2 separate regions of the Homo sapiens genome follow, and region 1 is linked to region 2. The links are contacts of gene promoters, found by promoter capture Hi-C in blood cells and fetal thymus (Javierre and others, 2016). All regions are on one chromosome and are shown on one strand. Each heading gives the region's core, a stretch centred on a gene start or on the middle of the fragment in contact. The rest is flanking DNA. Distances are from core to core; before and after follow the strand shown.

What was found. The method cuts DNA at HindIII sites, captures the fragments that hold promoters and counts their contacts. A CHiCAGO score of 5 or more calls a contact.
Region 1: a contact is called between a fragment that was not itself captured here and the fragment with the promoter of WDR1 in region 2, in 1 of 17 cell types (neutrophils). The highest score is 5.2, in neutrophils.

What each region holds. Positions count from the first base shown.
Region 1 is chr4:13,598,554-13,602,355 of GRCh38, reverse strand. BOD1L1 (biorientation of chromosomes in cell division 1 like 1) reads left to right here. Exons shown (of 26, transcript NM_148894.3): 10 at 1-3,410. Among named protein-coding and RNA genes, the nearest start is that of BOD1L1, 27 kb to the left of the region's middle. RefSeq lists enhancers at 1,031-1,100, 2,193-2,693, 2,694-3,194. The HindIII fragment of the contact is 5,971 bases long and covers 1-3,802 here.
Region 2 is chr4:10,114,529-10,118,098 of GRCh38, reverse strand. It overlaps WDR1 (WD repeat domain 1), which reads left to right and starts at 1,300. Exons shown (of 15, transcript NM_017491.5): 1 at 1,300-1,448; 2 at 1,865-1,986. The coding sequence starts at 1,433. LOC124900666 (a long non-coding RNA gene) reads right to left here and starts at 1,010. Exons shown (of 2, transcript XR_007058030.1): 1 at 1-1,010. It also overlaps the pseudogene RNA5SP155. RefSeq lists enhancers at 1-68, 1,839-1,988, 1,639-2,443 and silencers at 989-1,108, 1,119-1,528, 1,609-1,758. The HindIII fragment of the contact is 9,752 bases long and covers 444-3,570 here.

The DNA of each region.
Region 1 (3,802 bases), core at 425-2,924, 3.5 Mb before region 2:
TTCTGTTGCCACTAGTACTGAAGGGAAGGACAAAGATGTCACCTTAAGTCCAGTGAAGGCTGGGCCTGCCACAACCACTTCTTCAGAAACAAGACAAAGTGAGGTGGCTTTGCCTTGCACCAGCATTGAGGCAGATGAAGGCCTCATAATAGGAACACATTCCAGAAATAATCCTCTTCATGTTGGTGCAGAAGCCAGTGAATGCACTGTTTTTGCTGCAGCTGAAGAAGGTGGGGCTGTTGTCACAGAGGGATTTGCTGAAAGTGAAACCTTCCTCACAAGCACTAAGGAAGGGGAAAGTGGGGAGTGTGCTGTGGCTGAATCTGAGGACAGAGCAGCAGACCTACTGGCTGTGCATGCAGTTAAAATCGAAGCCAATGTAAATAGCGTTGTGACAGAGGAAAAGGATGATGCTGTAACCAGTGCAGGCTCTGAAGAAAAATGTGATGGTTCTTTAAGTAGAGACTCAGAAATAGTTGAAGGAACTATTACTTTTATTAGTGAAGTTGAAAGTGATGGAGCAGTTACAAGTGCTGGAACAGAGATAAGAGCAGGATCTATAAGCAGTGAAGAGGTGGATGGCTCCCAGGGAAATATGATGAGAATGGGTCCCAAAAAAGAAACAGAGGGCACTGTGACATGTACAGGAGCAGAAGGCAGAAGTGATAACTTTGTGATCTGCTCAGTAACTGGAGCAGGGCCCCGGGAGGAACGCATGGTTACAGGTGCAGGTGTTGTCCTGGGAGATAATGATGCACCACCAGGAACAAGTGCCAGCCAAGAAGGAGATGGTTCTGTGAATGATGGTACAGAAGGTGAGAGTGCAGTCACCAGCACGGGGATAACAGAAGATGGAGAGGGGCCAGCAAGTTGCACAGGTTCAGAAGATAGCAGCGAAGGCTTTGCTATAAGTTCTGAATCGGAAGAAAATGGAGAGAGTGCAATGGACAGCACAGTGGCCAAAGAAGGCACTAATGTACCATTAGTTGCTGCTGGTCCTTGTGATGATGAAGGCATTGTGACTAGCACAGGCGCAAAAGAGGAAGACGAGGAAGGGGAGGATGTTGTGACTAGTACTGGAAGAGGAAATGAAATTGGGCATGCTTCAACTTGTACAGGGTTAGGAGAAGAAAGTGAAGGGGTCTTGATTTGTGAAAGTGCAGAAGGGGACAGTCAGATTGGTACTGTGGTAGAGCATGTGGAAGCTGAGGCTGGAGCTGCCATCATGAATGCAAATGAAAATAATGTTGACAGCATGAGTGGCACAGAGAAAGGAAGTAAAGACACAGATATCTGCTCCAGTGCAAAAGGGATTGTAGAAAGCAGTGTGACCAGTGCAGTCTCAGGAAAGGATGAAGTGACACCAGTTCCAGGAGGTTGTGAGGGTCCTATGACTAGTGCTGCATCTGATCAAAGTGACAGTCAGCTCGAAAAAGTTGAAGATACCACTATTTCCACTGGCCTGGTCGGGGGTAGTTACGATGTTCTTGTATCTGGTGAAGTCCCAGAATGTGAAGTTGCTCACACATCACCAAGTGAAAAAGAAGATGAGGACATCATCACCTCTGTAGAAAATGAAGAGTGTGATGGTCTCATGGCAACTACAGCCAGTGGTGATATTACCAACCAGAATAGCTTAGCAGGGGGTAAAAATCAAGGCAAAGTTTTGATTATTTCCACCAGTACCACAAATGATTACACCCCTCAGGTAAGCGCAATTACAGATGTGGAAGGAGGTCTCTCAGATGCTCTGAGAACTGAAGAAAATATGGAAGGTACCAGAGTAACCACAGAAGAATTTGAGGCCCCCATGCCCAGTGCAGTCTCAGGAGATGACAGCCAACTCACTGCCAGCAGAAGTGAAGAGAAAGATGAGTGTGCCATGATTTCCACAAGCATAGGGGAAGAATTCGAATTGCCTATCTCCAGTGCAACAACCATCAAGTGTGCTGAAAGTCTTCAGCCGGTTGCTGCAGCAGTGGAAGAAAGGGCTACAGGTCCAGTCTTGATAAGCACCGCCGACTTTGAGGGGCCTATGCCCAGTGCGCCCCCAGAAGCTGAAAGTCCTCTTGCCTCAACCAGCAAGGAGGAGAAGGATGAATGTGCTCTCATTTCCACTAGCATAGCAGAAGAATGTGAGGCTTCTGTTTCCGGTGTAGTTGTTGAAAGTGAAAATGAGCGAGCTGGCACAGTCATGGAAGAAAAAGACGGGAGTGGCATCATCTCTACGAGCTCGGTGGAAGACTGTGAGGGCCCAGTGTCCAGTGCTGTCCCTCAAGAGGAAGGCGACCCCTCAGTCACACCAGCGGAAGAGATGGGTGACACCGCCATGATTTCCACAAGCACCTCTGAAGGGTGTGAAGCAGTCATGATTGGTGCTGTCCTCCAGGATGAAGATCGGCTCACCATCACAAGAGTAGAAGACTTGAGCGATGCTGCCATCATCTCCACCAGCACAGCAGAATGTATGCCAATTTCCGCCAGCATTGACAGACATGAAGAGAATCAGCTGACTGCAGACAACCCAGAAGGGAACGGTGACCTGTCAGCCACAGAAGTGAGCAAGCACAAGGTCCCCATGCCCAGCCTAATTGCTGAGAATAACTGTCGGTGTCCTGGGCCAGTCAGGGGAGGCAAAGAACCGGGTCCCGTGTTGGCAGTGAGCACCGAGGAGGGGCACAACGGGCCATCAGTCCACAAGCCCTCTGCAGGGCAAGGCCATCCAAGTGCTGTTTGTGCGGAAAAAGAAGAGAAGCATGGCAAGGAGTGCCCCGAAATAGGACCATTTGCAGGAAGAGGACAGAAAGAGAGCACTTTACACCTCATAAATGCAGAAGAGAAGAATGTATTGTTGAACTCCCTTCAGAAAGAAGATAAGAGCCCAGAGACAGGGACAGCAGGGGGCAGTAGCACAGCAAGTTATTCAGCAGGAAGGGGCTTAGAGGGGAATGCTAACTCACCTGCCCACCTGAGAGGACCAGAACAGACGTCTGGGCAGACGGCTAAGGATCCCTCTGTCAGCATTCGCTATTTGGCAGCAGTAAACACCGGTGCTATAAAAGCTGATGACATGCCACCTGTTCAAGGGACCGTGGCTGAGCATTCCTTTCTTCCTGCTGAGCAGCAGGGGTCTGAAGACAACTTGAAAACCAGTACCACCAAATGTATTACTGGCCAAGAATCAAAAATTGCTCCTTCCCACACAATGATCCCTCCAGCTACTTACAGTGTAGCTCTGTTGGCTCCTAAATGTGAGCAGGACTTGACTATAAAGAATGATTATAGTGGCAAATGGACTGATCAAGCATCTGCTGAGAAAACAGGAGATGATAACAGCACAAGGAAATCATTCCCTGAGGAAGGAGACATAATGGTTACTGTGTCTTCTGAAGAAAATGTGTGTGACATAGGTGAGAATCTGTACCTAATTGCAAATTTTAATATTTACAAGGATGATTGTACAACAGAGTGCATTTAGGACAGTCTTCCAAAAGATGGTTTTGGTTCCAGAAAGATAAAATATCTATAAATTTTTTTCTCATATCATAATGTTGCAAAATAACTCTCATCAAACTTGAAGGTCAAACTTCTCTAAAAGCTACTTGTGTTTAAAAGTTTAAAGCCTTTGGCCCATTTCTCATGTGTGGGGAGAGAAAAAGCAGGAGGCTGAGGCATGGGAAGTCCACATGTTATTTACATGACTGCTGCAACTTACTAAACCTTTTTGACCTACAGGTTTTTTGTCAATCAAAAAGAAGAATACCCTACCACAACCCAATGAAAGCAATACATTTTTTTTTTA
Region 2 (3,570 bases), core at 51-2,550:
ACAACCCTCCCACCCCCAGAGCCCCGAGGGAAAGCTTGTACCCATTCTACTGAAAGATGAGACTAGAAACTTGTACACTTCACAGCGCCTGCTCTCCAGCTGAGCCACTACCCGGGTTTTACAAGTGGGGCTTGTTTTGCTTTCTTAGGAAATAACCTTTAACTTCCTTAAAAGCAGCAGCGCCCCCACCCCCACTTTTGCCTTTCAAAAGCTAAACTTTTGAGAAAAAGCACGAGTTCAGGCCTAACAAAGAGTAACCCTTACGTTCTTGTTGCCAGTAACTACTTCAAGAAAAAGCACTTAACCGTGCTTAGAGAAAGACGCCAACAGCATTCCTCTTCCACTTACAACAACATTCAGCTACCCGCCCGCACCCCGCCAAATACTTTGCTTTCTCCCACTTTTACAACCCTCCCAGCCCCCAGAGCCCCAAGGGGAAAGCTTGTACCCATCCTACTGAAAGATGAGACTAGAAACTTGGACACTTTACAGCCCCTGCTCTCCCGCCACAACTGAGCCACTACCCTGGTTTTAGGAGTGAGACTTGTTTTGTTTAGGAAATAACCTTTAACTTCCTTAAGACCGACAGCTCCCCCATCCCCCACGCCTTTTTTGCCTTTCAAAAGCTCAACTTTTGAGAGAAAAAGCACGAGTTCAGGCCCAACAAAGAGTAACCCCTACGTTCTTGTTGCCAGCAACTACTTCAAGCAAGGGCACTTAACCGTACTTTAAGAAGACGTAAAAAGCATCCCTCTCCTGCTTACAAAACCCGAGCAGGAGGACTGGCGGCTGGGCAACGCCCGGGACCGGTCAAAAAGGAGAGGCCGGGGAGCGCCCGCCACGCAACGCGGTCACAGGTACAGAGAGGTTTTTCCAGACCCCCACCAAAGCCCGCCAGTACTTTCAGCGTCTTTAAGACCCCCCCGCAAATAAACTTCCTACAGCCCAGCTTCTCCTACAAGCTAGCAACAGAAAGGCACCCACCCCCCGACTCCCAGAAGCATTCTGACGCGGCTGCTTGTCTGCGCCGCCTTTTCAAGGGCCCGCGGGGCGTGCTATACGTCACTTCCGGGGCGGGGCGAGCAAGGCGGAGGCGGGGCCGGGGCCGGCGGGGGAGGGGAGCGCCAGGTCCGCGCAGGCTCGCCGGGACCGCAGCCGCCGAGCCGAGCGCTTGACTATATATGGTCAAAGCTGGGGGCGAGCCGCGCGCGGGACCGCGCTTCCGGGTTCGGGGCGTCCGCAACCACAGCGCGCAGGGCAGGCGCGAGCTGGCCTCTGAGCCCCGGCCTCGGACCGCCCACTCCACTCCCGGCACGCCCGGTGCCGCCTTCCGGCTCCAGTCCCCGGGCTCGGCCTCGGCGAGGTGTAATTCGCAGCGCGGGCCGGCCCCGGAGGCTCTCGGCGAGCGCGGCGCGGTAACAAGTGGGCGAGGATGCCGTACGAGATCAGTAAGTGCCGCGGCGCGGGGCCCCCGAGCGGCCGCCGCGCTGCCCCGGCCCCGGTCCCCGGCCCCTAGGCGCCGTGCGGGTGGCGGGGGAGTCCTCGGCGCGGGGGAGGGGTGCGGGCGCCGGCCGGAGGCGTGGCGGGGCCGCCCTCGGTGGTGCAGGGCGGGACCCCCGACGGGGGGTGCGCCCCCAAGTTGGCGCCGTGGGCCGAGCCGGAGGAGCCCCGCTGCCCCCAAGGGCCTGGCCCGGGGCGCGGACCAGGAAGTCGCGCGGTTCCTGGCGCTCGTGGAAAGTGGAGGCCGCCCTCCCGGCGCAGTCAACAGGTGACCGGCCGAGACCGGTCCGGGGCTCCTTCTCCCTTCTGTCCCCGCCGTCCCCGCCCTGCCCTGACATGCCCCGCCGCATTTGTGTCTCCGCAGAGAAGGTGTTCGCCAGCCTCCCGCAGGTGGAGAGGGGCGTCTCCAAGATCATCGGCGGCGACCCTAAGGGCAACAATTTTCTGTACACCAATGGAAAGTGCGTCATCCTAAGGAACATCGACGTGAGTACCCCCTACCCCGGGCGCGGTTCTGCTCCGGAGCCACCTTGGGATGGGATAATTCGCCTTCCTCTCCACTTCTCACCTCCTGCCCATTGGCCCGGGGAGGGTGAGGGCGCCACGCCCCCTCTACCGGGAGCCACACCTCGGAGCCCCGGAAGCCGGCCTCAGATTCACCCAGGTCCTTGTCTGCTCCTTCTTGATGAGGAAACTGAGTCTTAGTTCGTTTCTGTCTACGGTCATAGCACCCTGAAAGCGCCGGATCGCCTCTGATCTTGGAAGCTAAGCACGGTCAGGCCTGGTTAGTACGTGGATGGGAGATTAGATTAGTTCATTCCTTAAAAGCAAGGGCTCCGGATTTGAGGGATCAGACTGACCCGGTCGGCCGCTGCGTGACCTTGAGAAGATTGGCGATTTGGGCATCTCTGAGCCCCAGTTTTCTCGTCTGTAAAACAGATGATGAGATGATGACCACTCTCGCTTCGCCTGCTGGCTGGGCAGATGGAATGAATGAGCTGCTGGCGTCCCTCAAGCCCAGCGGTGCCTGGTGCACTTTGAGCCCTTGCTGAATGGAATGGCACTCAGCTAACTCGCTGTTAATACCCTGGTCTTCCAGTATGGCAGAGCCCGGAAAAACACCCGGGCCTCTGGGCCAGCCAGATCTGCCACCATGGATCTAAGCCCCAAAGCAAAAACAGGAAGCAGTGTTTTCCCATGAATCATTCTCTGCAAGCCTCCGGTACCCAGGCTGAAAAGGCTTCTAGAGCCAGCTCCTTGGGAAATCCTTGCAAATTCATGTTATTCCTCTGTAATTGTTGGGGTGACCCAGTCTGTCAGTCTCCCTCCCTTCCTGGGTTACACGCTTAAATTTTGCTTTTCCCTTCCTCAGCCTGAGTGATGGAATTGGTGGGGTGGGAGTTGGAGGTGCCGGCCCGGCCATTGGGTGATTTCTCCTGTGCTGTGCTTAGTGGGGGCGGCTGGCACAAAGATGTATGTTTTGATTGATGCCATAGGCATACAAGGGTTGTCAACTTAAAGTCAGCCTGATTTCCCTTGGTAGGTTGGGACTGTTGATCGGACACACTTGCCCTCCAGGAGGCCAGCAACTGGCTGAGGGAATGAAGGGGTCTCTGGGTCTCAGTTTCCTTCTCTGTGAAAGGAGAAGCCTCTTGGTCCGAAGAGCTGCTGGCTCTGCCCGCATCTGTCTCGTTAACCCAGGCAGTCGCTGCTGTTCCTCTGCTGGAAGACAGAGCTCTACCTGCCCTGGATTGCTGGGCCCCTCAAATGAGGGGGTGGGCGGGTGTGAATGTGCTTTGAAGGTGCTAACAACTTGCTAGTCACACAGATTCCTAGAAAGCCGAAGGGCCTTGCTTAGAACTGGAGAAAATCACCAGGGATCTAATGGTAATGATCTGGAAGTCTCCGAAGGCAGGTCCTGAGGCTTTTGAGAAAATAAAAATTGAGACAACCCTAAAGAGATATTTAGTAGTTTGGCAAATAAAATCCACTAACACGTCCTCGGATACAGAGCAGTAGGATATTTCGTTTTGCCCCTAACCAGGCCTTCCCTGTCGTTGCAGTCCACAT